Regions from separate parts of the Homo sapiens genome. Here all the other regions are linked to region 5. The links are contacts of gene promoters, found by promoter capture Hi-C in blood cells and fetal thymus (Javierre and others, 2016). All regions are on one chromosome and are shown on one strand. Each heading gives the region's core, a stretch centred on a gene start or on the middle of the fragment in contact. The rest is flanking DNA. Distances are from core to core; before and after follow the strand shown. Region 1 overlaps MAX (MYC associated factor X). Region 2 overlaps CHURC1-FNTB (CHURC1-FNTB readthrough). Region 3 overlaps CHURC1-FNTB (CHURC1-FNTB readthrough). Region 4 overlaps CHURC1-FNTB (CHURC1-FNTB readthrough). Region 5 holds the start of PLEKHG3 (pleckstrin homology and RhoGEF domain containing G3).

Region 1 (2,801 bases), core at 1-2,500, 380 kb before region 5:
GTTTAAGGCTGACAGTTCATTCGGTAACCTATGTCTATAGCATATCTGAGCTGCTAGAGGGATTGTCGTTTAAATGAAATGTAAACTATAGCCCTATCCACTTCTCCTCATTACTCATTAAGGTTATATTAGCTAGTCAGACTCCAACTTGGGCAATTATCTTTTTAAAGTTTCTACATCTTAAATTGTTGCCCATAGTTGCCCAAGTCTCCCTTAGGCTCCAGGCTCAGCAATTGTAAATGCATTTAATTTCTTATAAATTATTTGCATGCTGCTGAAAACCTCCAAGGGCTTTTCATTGCCCATTTAGGTAAGGACTGGTATTCCATGTTCTGTAAATAAGATACCCAGCTTACCTACCTGCTTTTTCGCCTCCTTCCTGACATTAACCTTCCAGTTACTATACACCCTTGTATTAGTCCGTTTTCGTGCTGCTGATAAAGACATACCTGAGACTGGGCAATTTACAAAAGAAGGAGGTTTAGTGGACTTACAGTTCCACGTGGCTGGAAGGAAGCCTCACAATCATGGCGAAGGCAAGGAGGAGCAAGTCATGTCTTACATGGATGGCAGCAGGCAAAGAGAGAGAGCTTGTGCAGGGAAACTCCTGTTTTTAAAACCATCAGATCTTGCAAGACTTATTCACTATCACGAGAACAGCATGGGAAAGACCTGTCCCCGTGATTCAATTACCTCCCACCGAGTTCCTGCCACAACACATGGGAATTACAATTCAAGATGAGATTTGGGTGGAGACACAGCCAAACTATATTATTCTGCTCCTGGCCCCTCCCAAATCTCATGTCCTCACATTTCAAAACCAATCGTGCCTTGTCTTAACTCATTTCAGCATTAACTCAGAAGTCCACAGTGCAAAGTCTCATCTGGGACAAGACAAGTCCTTTCTGCCTATGAGCCTGTAAAATCAAAAGCAAGTTAGTTACTTCCTAGATAGAGTGGGGGTACAGGCATTGGATAAACACAGCCATTCCAAATGGGAGAAATCGGTCAAAAAAAGGGGCTACAGGCCTCATGCAAGTCCAAAATCCAGCAGGGCAGTCAAATCTAAAAGCCCTGTAATGATCTCCTTTGACTCCATGTCTCACATAGAGGTCATGCTGATACAAAAGGTGGGTTCCTTTGGTCTTGCATAGCTCTACCCTTGTGGCTTTGCAAGGTACAGCCTCCTTCCTGGCTGCTTTCACAGGCTGGCATTGAGTGTCTGCAGCTTTTCCAGGTGCACAGTGCAAGATGTCAGTCAGTGGATCTACCATTCTGGGGTCTGCAGGATGGTGGCACTCTTCTCACAGCTCCACTAGAGAGGGCCCCAGTAGAGACTGTGTGGGGGCTCTGACCCCACATTTCCTGTCTGCACTGCCGTAGCAGAGGTCCTCCATGAGGGCCCTGTCCCTTCAGCAAACTTCTCCCTGGACATACAGGTGTTTCCATACTCCATCCTCTGAAATCTAGGCAGAGGTTCCCAAACCCCAATTCTTGACTTCTGTTCACTCCCAGGCTCAATACCATGAGGAAGCTGCCAAGGCTTGGGGCTGGCACCCTCTGAAGCCGCAACCTGAGCTCTGCATTGGGCCCTTTCAGCCACGACTGGAGTGGCCGGGATGCAGGGCACCAAGTCCCTAGGCTGCATACAACCTGTGGACCCTGGGCCCAGCCCACAAGACCAGTTTTTCCTCCTAGGCCTCTGGGTCTGTGATGGGAACAGCTGCTGTGAAGATCTCTGACATGCCCTGGAGACATTTTCCCCATTGTCTTGGGGATTAACATTCGGCTTCTCATTACTTATGCAAATCTCTGCAGCTGGCTTGAATTTCTTCTCAGAAAATGGGATTTTCTTTTCTATCACATTGTCAGGCTACAAATTTTCTGAACTTTTATGCTCTGCTTCTCTTATAAAACTGAATGCCTTTTACAGCACCCAAGTCACCTCTTGAATGCTTTGCTGCTTAGAAATTTCTTCCTCCAGATACCCTAAATCATCTCTGTGAAGTTCAAAGTTCCACTTATCTCTAGCGTAGGGGCAAAATGCTGCCAATCTCTTTGCTGAAACGTAACAGGAGTCACCTTTGCTCTAGTTCTCAACAAGTTCCTCATCTCCATCTGAGACCACCTCAGCCTGGACTTTATTGTCCATATCATTATCAGCATTTTGGGCAAAGCCATTCAACAAGTCCTTAGGAAGTTTGAAACTTTCCCACATTTTTCTGTCTTCTTCTGAGCCCTTCAAATTGTTCCAACCTCTGCCTGTTACCTAGTTCCAAAGTTGCTTCCACATTTTCAGGTATCTTTTCAGCAGTGCCCTACTCTACTGGTACCAATTTACTGCATTTAGTCCATTTTCATGCTGCTGATAAAGACATACCTGAGACTGGGCAATTTACAAAAGAAAGAGGTTTAATGACTTACAGTTACATATGGCTGGGGAGGCCTCACAATCATGGTGGAAGGCAAGGAGAAGCAAGTCACGTTTTACATGGATGGCAGCAGGCGAAGAGAACTTGTGCAGGGAAACTGCTGTTTTTAAAACCATCAGCTCTCACGAAATTTATTCCCTATCACAAGAACAACATGGGAAAGACCAACCCCCATGATTCAATTACTGCTCACTAGGTTCCTCCCCCGACACATGGGAATTGTGGGAGTTAAATTCAAGATGAGATTTGGGTAGGGACACAGCCAAACCATATCAACCCCTCTTCTGTTTGCCCAGGAATTTCATTCTCAGCTTATCTGAGTGCTTTGCTTTTCTCAAGGTCCAACCCCAGCCACACTGCCCAGGTGAC
Region 2 (2,700 bases), core at 59-2,558, 350 kb before region 5:
TCTCTACAAAAAATTAAAAATTAGCTAGGTGTGGTGGCCGATGCCTGTAATTCCAGTTACTTGGGAGGCTGAAGCAGGAGGATCACTCGAGCCCAAGAGGTGAAGGCTGCAGTGAGTCATGATTGTGACACTGCACTCCAGCCTGGGTGACAGAGTGAGACCCTGTCTCAAAAAAGTAAAATACAATAAAATAAAAGCCCCATCCTCCAGCCCTGCCCAGCAGTGGGAACTGTATTTTTTTTCTTTTCTTTCTTTTTTTACCTTAAACTATTAAAGGAAACTGTAATTTTAAAGTCAGTCTCTCCAGCTGTCTTCTGGAAAGGGCTCTCCAGGGGCAGTACTAATGATAAATTGATACACTTCTCTAGAAAAATACCTAAATATCTAGAAATGGGCCACATCCTTCCTGATACATTGTGGGACCAGGCCTTCCCCTGGATGCCAAGAGCAGCAGGACGTGTGCTGGGATGGGGGAAGACAGAGGGTGGGTAACAAAGGTGAGAGGACTTATTTTATTTCCCTTTTTCTAACACATAAGCCATCTCAGATTTGAGCTTAATCATTTAATCCACTCTATAATAGTTGTCATGATTACAGTCTCTGTTTACAACACTGAGGGGTTTTAAAATCCTGTATCCTATTCTATTTAGATCAGTTTTTTTTTGTTTTTTTTAAAAAAAAGAAGAGTTATCTACCCAGCAATCTGTTTCCCTGTCTGGGGGAGGGGGTTGCATGCAGGCTGGGGGACAAGACGGGCAGCTGGAGGTGCCAAGATCAATGGCCTCAAGGGGTGCTCCCAACTGGGTGCTTTTTCCCATACAACCTAGCGCTATGCAGGTGCTGAAGGTGACACCTCTGCTCTTGAGATCTGGCTCTGAGTAGGCCTGAGGTGCACGCCCCTCTGCTCTCTCCTCCCCTCTCCCTTCCCTCCCCAGAGAGAAAACACTCACTTGCCAGGTTTATCCAGAAGCCCCCCCGCAGGGCACTGGCAGCACATCAGGATGTACTCCTGCAGGGCCTGCTGATGGAACATCCAGTGGCTCATGCTAAGGGCAGGGTCACCTGTTGAAGGGCAAAGGGTCAGTAAGGGCCCGGCAGATCCAGCCAAGTATCAATGACCTAATTCCACTTTCTCACCTGGGGGAATAGTCAAGGTTTCCTGCTCCCCTTCCTCTTCCATTCATTCTTGGTACAACTGCTATCTTCCCCATGTCCTACGCACAGCATGTCCCTTCTCCTGAACTTTGACATGTGTCAAAGAGCAGCAATTCAAAGTGGCACTTTCACTTTCTTGAAATGCACCCTGTTAACGTGGATGGTGATCCTCAACCACATCTCTGGCAGGCAGTGAACCAGCCTAGCTGTTTAGCTTACCTTCCCAGACTGACCTCGGTAGCTGCTCCCAACTTGGTCCATAACTCTACCCTGGACTTCAAGAGACATTCCCTCTAGCATATCTCTATAACTTGTTAACCAGACTGATTAGCTCAGAGAACTCTTAATGGGTAATAAAGTCTGTTTCTTCTACTTTTCTAAGCCTAAATTTAATTGATCTCCAAAGGGAATTCTCTAACTTGTCTCTCAGCTCAAAGAATTTACCTAAGAAACATTACTAGTAACTGCCCTCCTGCATCATATGATACCCTAGCAAAAACTGGGTATTCTGGTAATACTACTAAGGTACTGACAAGCAACTGGACTTCTTCACTCTGAAGTCCAATCACTATGGTCAAAGAATTCTGTGGGCCACACAGTTATCAAGTGGGAAGGAGGGACAAATCACGGACAGGTGTGCAGAAACATCTGCATAGAAATCGATTAAAAATATATATACATATAGGATGTACACTAAGTCCTTGGTCAATTTTATATTTTGATACCTGGGCTAAAAGATGCCTGACAATAAATCATTTTTAAAAAAAAGATGCCCAACAATTGGTAAATGGCACCTGAAAGCTAATTGTTCTTTCTTCCAGTCTTTTTGGTTCTATGCGTTTTTCTACCTAGTTATTATAACTGTGTAGCTTATGTTTTTCACTTATACCACTATAGGCATAAATTTTCTATTCTATTACATAATCTGCATAGCCATCACTGTGAATAGCCATATAGTATTTCATTAAGTGGACATATAAGGTAACTGTATCATAAAAAGAACTGAGCTAAAAATCTTATATATATGTCAGTATATAAATTCCTATGGTGGGCCAGGCACGATGGCTTATGCCTGTAATCCCAGCACTTTGGGAGGCTGAGGGGGGTTGATCACGAGGTCAGGAGATCGAGACCATCCCGGCTAACACGGTGAAACCCTGTCTCTACTAAAAATACAAAAAAATTAGCCGGACATGGTGGTGGGCGCCTGTAGTCCCAGCTACTCAGGAGGCTGAGGCAGGAGAATGGCGTGAACCCAGGAGGCGGAGTTTGCAGTGAGCTGAGATCACACCACTGCACTCCAGCCTGGGCGACACAGCGAGACTCCATCTCAAAAAAAAAAAAAAATTCCTATGGTGAAAATTATAAAAGTTTATGGTATCAATAACCTTTCCCATTTTGGAGAAAATAGCAAAAAAGAAAAACGGGGGAAAAGATTTCTAAAAATAAAAATGAAAAGTTTATGATACAGTCTATAAAGAGATTGAAGCAAAATATTAAACTGTTGAATATTTCCTTTTTTTTTTTCTTTTTTGAGACAGAGTC
Region 3 (2,750 bases), core at 209-2,708, 320 kb before region 5:
AGACTAGGCTATCATAGACAGACTTAAGGCCTAGGATAAGTTATAAAAATTATAGCTATGTTCTGCACAATTGGGCAGGTTTAAAAAAAAAAAAACAGAAAAAAAGATTACAGCTTTGGAAATAGGAACAGTCATCCATGGGCAGAACGGCTTAGGAGGGGATGTAAATGCAAGATGCATGAGCTGGCATCACATCAAGCTTGTTCTCGTACTAACTAAAACAGCTTCAGCTTGATATAGTGAAGAGGAAATCTCCTTCCCTAGGTAGAATATGACAATGGACAGGTGAAGACGGGCAGCATCTCTTGTTGATTCCGGGTGGCCTCTGCTGCTCACAGAGTCAGACGTGTTATTTGACTCTTCATCAAGCACCGGCAAGTCTCTGGATGGCTGCTGTTCTGGAAGAATGGTCAGGTCGAAAGTTGGCTACTATAGGCCGGGCGCAGTGGCTCACGCCTATAATCCTAGCACTTTGGGAGGCCGACGTGGGCGGATCACTTAAGGCCAGGAGTTTGAGACCAGCCTGGCCAACATGGTGAAACCCCATCTCTACTAAAAATACAAAAATTAGCCAGGCATAGTGGCATGCGCCCGTAGTCCCAGCTGCTTGGGAGGCTGAAGCACGAGAATCGCTTGAACCCGGAAGGTGGAAGTTGCAGTGAGCTGAGATTGCACCAGTGCCCTCCAGCCTGGGGGACACAGCAAGACTGCCTCAAAGGAAAAAAAAGTTGGCTACTTTAGAGCAGAGTTTCTCAACTGTTGACACTGGGGCTCAGTAATTCTTTGGTGCAGGGACCGTCCTGTAGAGGATATTTAGCAGCACCTCTGACCTGCACCCACCAGGTGCCAACAGCACCTGGCCAGGAAAAATGCCCAGGAGACAAAGGCCTAGATATGGTGTCCTCACTGAAAGGTAAGGAAACATACAAACTAGACTTAAAAATTAAAAGGAAAAATATTTAAGGGGCTATTCCGGGGATAAGCTACTAACAACCTTTTGAAAGGGAAAGGATAAAACACTGAAATAGCAAAATTTGAATTTATCTTTGGAAAAATCTTACAAGCTGAAATGTCCTAAAATGGTTTTTAAGTTAAAGGCAATTTTTAAATCTTACAGAAGCTAAAAACATAACTTTAACAGTGCGATGGTCTCCCTGTGAATTTTATTTTGCTCTGTTTCACTGAAGCTGCTTTCAGTAACAAAGAATGGGATTCTCATTAGAGGATGCTTCCTTCAGTGCCAAAACCATTAAGCAAAGCAAATGTACTTAGTCTAGTTCCAAAATATTAATTCATTTTAGATAAACACATATAAATGTGTGCATATAACCTCTTAAAAGAGGGAAGCTAGGCCGGGTGCGGTGGCTCACATCTGTAATCCCAACACTTTGGGAAGCCAAGACAGGTGTATCACCTGAGGTCAGGAGTTCAAGACCAGCCTGGCCAACATGTTGAAAGCCTGTCTTTACAAAATACAAAAATTAGCTGGGCGTGGTGGCACACCCCTGTAATCCTAGCTACTTGGGAAGCTGAGGCAGGAGAATCACTTGAACCCGGGAGGTGGAGGTTGCAGTGAGCTGAGATCATGCCACTGCACTACAGCCTGGCAACAAGAGCAAAACTCCGTCTCAAAAAAAAAAAAAAAAGGCCGGGCGCGGTGGCTCATGCCTGTAATCCCAGCACTTTGGGAGGCTGAGGCAGGTGGATCACCTGAGGTCAGGAGTTCGAGACCAACTTGGCCAACATGGTAAAACCCAATCTCTACTAAAAATACAAAAATTAGCCGGGTGTGGTGGCTCCCGCCTGTATGCCTGTAGTCCCAGCTACTCGGGAGGCCGAGGCAGGAGAATTGCTTGAACCCAGGAGGTGGAGGTTGCAGTGAGCCAAGATCGTGCCACTGCACTCCAGTCTGGGCAACAGAGCGAGACTCTCAAAAAAAAAAGAGGCAAGCTGAAGTCCTACCTATGGACTGGGCATGGTGGCTCACGCCTATAATCCCAGTGTTTTGGGAGGCTAAGGCAGGAGGATCAATTGAGCCCAGGAGATTGAGACCAGCCCAGGCAACACAGCAAGGCACTGTCTCTACCAAAAATAAAGAAAACATTCCAGGCTATGAATACATTATTCTTGAAACCTCTGATACCAGCAGTAACAACCTCGCCTTGCTGGCTTTGGTCAGCGGTCATAGCAGCTGACAAAAGTATTTTGTCCACTAGAGGGAACCCAGCTTATCATATTGTTCCCTAAACAAATAGAAGCACAGCAGTGAACAAAATAGGAAAGAGAAACCTTTGTGTAAGTGTAGGGGGCGTGTGTGTTACATGCAGGGGAAAAGAAGGCAGGAAAATAATAAAACTGCAGAGCTAGACTTTTTGACTCTAGGTCACCTTAATATATTTGTATGAAGAAAGAAAACTGAACGCATTTCAAAGCATTTCATTTCCCTGTGCAAGATAAATAAAAAGGCAATATTCTATTTCAGCTAGTCTAAAAAAAATCTTCTATTTATATAGAAGTCCTTAAGATTTATCTGTATCTTACTAAAAATAATCTATTTCCTTATGGGTCAGAGCCAGTAGGCTTTGTTCATAACAAGTGTTTTCTGCACCTAGAAGTAACCACCTCCTAGGCACAAAGCAAAATACATTATTGGGAAGTCTAAGAAATGTTTAAAAGTTCACTAAATCAATGCGTAGAAGAACCACAGGTAAAGCTTTTAAGGCATCTGTGAAGCAGAAACTCTCATTAAC
Region 4 (2,700 bases), core at 2-2,501, 270 kb before region 5:
CTGAAATATGGCCTCGTGGGAAGGGAAAGACCTGACCGTCCCCCAGCCCGACACCCGTAAAGGGTCTGTGCTGAGGAGGATTAGTAAAAGAGGAAGGAATGCCTCTTGCAGTTGAGACAAGAGGAAGGCATCTGTCTCCTGCCTGTCCCTGGGCAATGGAATGTCTCGGTATAAAACCCGATTGTATGCTCCATCTACTGAGATAGGGAAAAACCGCCTTAGGGCTGGAGGTGGGACCTGCGGGCAGCAATACTGCTTTGTAAAGCATTGAGATATTTATGTGTATGCATATCTAAAAGCACAGCACTTAATCCTTTACATTGTCTATGATGCAAAGACCTTTGTTCACGTGTTTGTCTGCTGACCCTCTCCCCACAATTGTCTTGTGACCCTGACACATCCCCCTCTTCGAGAAACACCCACAGATGATCAATAAATACTAAGGGAACTCAGAGGCTGGCGGGATCCTCCATATGCTGAACGCTGGTTCCCCGGGTCCCCTTATTTCTTTCTCTATACTTTGTCTCTGTGTCTTTTTCTTTTCCAAATCTCTCGTCCCACCTTACGAGAAACACCCACAGGTGTGTAGGGGCAACCCACCCCTACACTCCATAATCAAAAGAACGTCATGCCACATGTTCTAGAAGTTAAAAACCTCAATTAACAAAGAGGTCTCTTTCAGTGTTTCACTCCACTGGACAAACGGTATCCCTTTGTAGATTCAAAATAATTTTCTGGACAGATTTAGTGACATCTTTCCAATGTATATTATTACTACTCCTTTCAAACAATCTTTTTCAAGTCTGCTAATTTAGAACTACAGGGTCAACTCTCCCCTGTCCTGTTGACAGAGCCCTTCTTCCCCTGCTGTCTACAAGGCAGTCTTAGAGGGGTCTTAAGTGTATAGTTAGGTAAAAAAGGAGACCCTATAAGTCCTGATATGTGAGAGACCTGGGGTATGGCGTCTCTTTGTCTTTGGTTGGCAGGCACTCTCTCTGATCCTTCCTGCAAGGCAGATCTTATAAAGAACAATGTCGGCCGGGCGCGGTGGCTCACGCCTGTAATCCCAGCACTTTGGGAGGCTGAGGCGGGCGGATCACAAGGTCAGGAGATCGAGACCATCCTGGCTAACAGGGTGAAACCCCGTCTCTACTAAAAATACAAAAAAATTAGCCGGACATGGTGGCGGACGCCTGTAGTTCCAGCTACTCAGGAGGCTGAGGCAGGAGAATGGTGTGAACCCGAGAGGCGGAACTTGCAGTGAGCTGAGATCGCACCACTGCACTCCAGCCTGGGTGACAGAGTGAGACTCCGTCTCAAAAAAAAAAAAAAAGAGATTAGGACATTGATAGGCACAGGTGGAACACCATGTGAACGTGAAGACAGCCATCTACAGCCAAGGAGATCCCTCATGAGAAACCAACCCTGCTGACACCTTCATCTCATACTTCTGACTGCCACAATTGTGGGAAATAAATTCCTGGTGTTTTTGTGTGTGTTTTTGTTTGTTTGTTTGTTTTAAGACGGAGTCTTGTTCTGTTGCCCAGGCTGGAGTGCAATGGCGTGATCTTGGCTCACTGCAACCTCCGCCTCCTGGGCTCAAGCGATTCTCCTGTCTCATCCTTCCAAGTAGCTGGGATTACAGGCATGGGCCACCATGCCTGGCTAATTTTTGTATTTTTAGTAGAGACGGGGTTTCACCATGTTGGCCAGGCTGGTCTCGAACTCTTGACCTCATGACCTGCCCGCCTTGGGCTCCCTAAGTGCTGGGATTACAGGCGTGAGCCACCACGCCCAGCCAAATTCCTGTTGTTTAAGCCACCCAGTCTCTGGTACTTTGTTATGGCATCCCTAGAAAACTGATGCAGTCATGAAGGTGGTGGCCAGGACACTAAGGACAACCTGAAATGGTACTGTGGGTCATTTTGTGTCAACATCAATTACCATCAGAATTGTTTCCTGTGGTTCCCAGCCCTCAAATGCACGTGTCTCTGATAATTTGCCTCCTCCCCTCTTTCCTTGTCATTTGAGTATCTTTCCTCCATTCTCTATTTAGTCAGGGGAAAACAAAGAAAAAGCATGTGAATGGAGGACAGTACTGAGACCGTGGTAGAGGGGATGTGTCCTGTTTCTTTCAATCACGAGGTAAGGAGGAAATCCTTCTGCACCGCGGGCACATCACTAACAGTCCCCCAGAGTAGGAAACACAGGGTAAGTCTAGAAGAGGCGGGTGTTTCACTAACGGGGAGCCCCATGGTCCAGCCGCGTTGAGTCTTGGTGATGGACTGCCTATTGGTGCAACTCTCCAGCTGTTCAGCTGTTGCTATGGCAGGTCCCACAGTGGTGCCTTTGGGTGCATGCTCAGTGTGGCTGGGGTGGGGATGGGGTGGATGGGGGCAGGCACTTGTCTCCCTGGTTGAAGAATCAGTATCACATAATTGAGAGACTGATTCTAGGAGGATTCTAGTGGAAAAGATGTTCAGCAACCATTCCTCAGATGTCTCCCAGTTCTACTGAAATGTGCCCCAGTCCAAGTTGACCACAAATGGGGAGGATGCCAAAATGTTCCACTGAGTGACTGAGGTAAGGGGATGGAATTTAGGTATTTCATTTACAAAGACCGGGTTAAAGTGAACTTTGTTGTCTCCACTAGTCTATATGTTTTTTTTTTTTATTTTTTTTTGAGACAGAATCTCATTC
Region 5 (2,700 bases), core at 72-2,571:
AAGGCGAGGTGGCCGATGTGCTCAACGGGGAGGCCCTCCCCCGCTCCGGACTGTCATTGCCCTCCCTGCTTATTATTTCTTGAGCAAGGGCCATGTGACTGGGCTGCGTGCAGAGGCACGGCTGGGGAGACTCTGGGAACCCCCACTCCAGGGTTCCCCGTAAGGTGAACGCAGTGTGGGTCTCCTGCTGGGGCCCCCAGAGCAGGGGACAGGCACCTACATATGCCAACAGATTAGCGAGTGACCTCGAGGATCAAACTCTTTCGCGGCCTCTAACAACACCCTCCCCAAAAGCCACACCTCTCCAGCCTCCAACCATTCCATTCTCCCCTCCGTTCTTCCTTTTGTGTTCCAAAGGCGCCCCGAAGAGTCAAAGTAGCTATTTAACGCCTTAAAAATTTAAGCTTGCACGCCTTATACTGGCTTTCCAAACCAAAGGGCTGGGTGTAGGGGTGCGAAGAACCAAACCGACTTCAGGAGTGGACGAGGTCGAGGCAGCTGGTGGCCGGGCTTTCCGCTCCCCGCTTCTGGCCCCCACTCTCCTCCCTGCCGGACAGGTAGCCGAGATTCCCAACAGCGAGCACCGTGCGGCGCCAACCCGGAACAGGCTGCAGGCGCCTCCGGGGCTGGCAGGAGCCGAGGCTCGGGTCCTCGCGCAGAAGGGTCCACCCGCCAGGCCCACAGCTCCAGCCAAACACCAGCCCTCGGGCGCGCGCGGCCTCGCGGGCTTCCTGGATTTCAAACTGAGCCTCTCTGGAGCCGCCCGGCGCATTTGCCCCTTTTGTTTCCGGAGTGGAGGGAAAAAAAGACAGAAAAAGTCTCCCCATACGACCCTCCTGCGCTCGCGCACTCTGCGGCAGGGTGGCCCGGGAAGCAGCCAACACAGTTCCAGGCCCTCCTCGGTCGCCCCGGTCCTCACCCCGCAGGGGGCTGGCACGGGGGCCGCGAAGGGACTGGGGCCCCAGCGTGACTGCCGGCACCGCCGCTCAGCCTAATGCAGGGAGATAAGAGGGGAGAGAGGAGAATCAGGGGACACTCACCGAGCGGTAGCTGCCCCGCGGGCTCGGGACGCGCACGGCGTGCGGGGCTGCCCAGGTGCTGCCGCGACGCGGGCGCGAGTTTGAAAGTCGCTCTCTGAAGGGGCTGAGGCCGCCGACCGCTCCCGCCCACCGCCAGCCCCTCAGCTGGCCCGGACTCGGCCAGCTGCAAGCGCGGCCCCCGGAGACCCCAGGCAGCGCGCGGCTTGCCAGCGCCCGGCAGGAAGTCGAGCGGAGCCGGAGCTGCAGCGGGAGGGCAGGAGGGAGCGAGGGAGCGAGGGAGCGAGGGAGCGAGGGAGCGAGGGAGCGAGGGAGCGAGGGAGGGGCGGGCCAGGAATTTTTCCTGTGGGTGGAGACTCCAGCTCGCGGCTGCAGTCCAGCAATTGGCGGCTCTGCGGGGGCCGGGGCAACCTTCGCGGCGCGGCGAGCCAGAGCCGGGGTAAGGCTGCGGCGGCGGCGAGGCCTGGGCGCGGTTAACGATTAACGCCCGCAGGGTGATGAGCGCGCACCCCCGGGCAGCCTAGATGCTCTAGGATACCAAGACGCACGTGGTGGGGTCACCCTGGTGTCACAGACCTGCTATCACCGCCTCCCGAGACAGCATGGACTGCCAGAACGTACCCCTTGTATGGACAGGGAACACCGGGCCCTGCGAAGGGGGCTGAGGGCTTTCCCAAGTGAGTGACCAGCCGGGATCGATCTGGGGATCCTAATCCTACCAGAGCCGGCCGTGTCCGCTTTTCCAAGTCAGAAAGGCATGTCTTGAATTCCTCACCATAACTCGGTCCCTGTGACGCTTTACAGTGGTAAATGCAGACCTCTGAGAAGCTGACGGGAAAGAGATAAAGGAGACAACGTGAAGGCAACTCCACAAGGAACTGTTAAATAGGAAAAATAAAACACAGAAACCTGGATGATAGAGGACCCGTTTTTATAAAACAAAGAGAACCGTTTGTCTTTATGTCTCTGTATATGACCGTGTATGCATGGAAAGGTACACACCTGGAAACTGGGGGGCAAGGGGTGAGGATGGGGGACAGAGACATTCAATACATTTTGAGCAAGAGCATAAATCCAAAAACCCATAATAATTCATCAGTAAAGATCCTGAAGAACAACAAGCCCGGAGGAGGGAAGCCCAGAGTGGGGCTCCGGAAGAGGAACAACGCCCACTGGTTAGGCGCTATCACTAGTTCCTTGGGAGGAGGAATAGGACGCTGATATTAGAACCACGGGGTATATTTGTTATCCAGGTGTACAGCAAACGATTTCTAGAGGTATCATTTAAAACAAAACAAGCGCCCGCCCCAAAATGCTGCTCTGGGCAAATGCAAGCTCCAGGTGATCTACTGGGAGGGGAGAGGCGGGGCAGGCGCGGAAGGAAATGGCTTTCAGGTGACTTTGAAACTGGATCCTGGCGGAGGGTGGGGTGAAGGCAGCGTCCCGGCTCCTGCCTGCGGAGGAAGCGGTAGGCGCTCGGTCTGGCAGGCCCAGAAAGCGGGGCCCACATTCCTTAGGGAGGGAGGGTGTGTTGGAGGCTTGCAGAGCCCCAGACTCGCGGACCGTGAAGGTGAGAGCAGAGATTGCAGAAGAGGGGCTCGGAAATAGATCAACTTAGTTGGGGCTCCGCTAGACCCCGCCGGCCAGGGGAGAAGTGACAAGT

What was found. The method cuts DNA at HindIII sites, captures the fragments that hold promoters and counts their contacts. A CHiCAGO score of 5 or more calls a contact.
Region 1: a fragment that was not itself captured here is called in contact with the fragment with the promoter of PLEKHG3 in region 5 in 1 of 17 cell types (neutrophils); the score reaches 6.0 in neutrophils.
Region 2: a contact is called between a fragment that was not itself captured here and the fragment with the promoter of PLEKHG3 in region 5, in 1 of 17 cell types (neutrophils). The highest score is 6.8, in neutrophils.
Region 3: a contact is called between a fragment that was not itself captured here and the fragment with the promoter of PLEKHG3 in region 5, in 1 of 17 cell types (neutrophils). The highest score is 6.1, in neutrophils.
Region 4: a contact is called between a fragment that was not itself captured here and the fragment with the promoter of PLEKHG3 in region 5, in 2 of 17 cell types (neutrophils and erythroblasts). The highest score is 7.3, in neutrophils.

The regions. Positions count from the first base shown.
Region 1 is chr14:65,085,800-65,088,600 of GRCh38, reverse strand. The region is part of intron 3 of MAX (MYC associated factor X); the gene reads left to right. Among named protein-coding and RNA genes, the nearest start is that of MAX-AS1, 2.7 kb to the left of the region's middle. The HindIII fragment of the contact is 7,059 bases long and covers 1-2,801 here.
Region 2 is chr14:65,051,600-65,054,299 of GRCh38, reverse strand. It overlaps CHURC1-FNTB (CHURC1-FNTB readthrough), which reads right to left. Exons shown (of 14, transcript NM_001202559.1): 12 at 951-1,062. It overlaps FNTB (farnesyltransferase, CAAX box, subunit beta), which reads right to left. Exons shown (of 12, transcript NM_002028.4): 10 at 951-1,062. It also overlaps a transcript of MAX not described here. Among named protein-coding and RNA genes, the nearest start is that of MIR4706, 8.3 kb to the right of the region's middle. The HindIII fragment of the contact is 3,610 bases long and covers 1-2,700 here.
Region 3 is chr14:65,019,630-65,022,379 of GRCh38, reverse strand. All of the region lies in intron 6 of CHURC1-FNTB (CHURC1-FNTB readthrough), which reads right to left. The region is part of intron 4 of FNTB (farnesyltransferase, CAAX box, subunit beta); the gene reads right to left. It also overlaps a transcript of MAX not described here. Among named protein-coding and RNA genes, the nearest start is that of MIR4706, 24 kb to the left of the region's middle. RefSeq lists a silencer at 2,310-2,359. The HindIII fragment of the contact is 2,514 bases long and covers 202-2,715 here.
Region 4 is chr14:64,976,495-64,979,194 of GRCh38, reverse strand. All of the region lies in intron 3 of CHURC1-FNTB (CHURC1-FNTB readthrough), which reads right to left. Among named protein-coding and RNA genes, the nearest start is that of RAB15, 5.5 kb to the right of the region's middle. The HindIII fragment of the contact is 3,747 bases long and covers 1-2,700 here.
Region 5 is chr14:64,703,045-64,705,744 of GRCh38, reverse strand. PLEKHG3 (pleckstrin homology and RhoGEF domain containing G3) reads right to left here and starts at 1,321. Exons shown (of 17, transcript NM_001308147.2): 1 at 1,041-1,321. RefSeq lists an enhancer at 2,541-2,700. The HindIII fragment of the contact is 3,721 bases long and covers 407-2,700 here.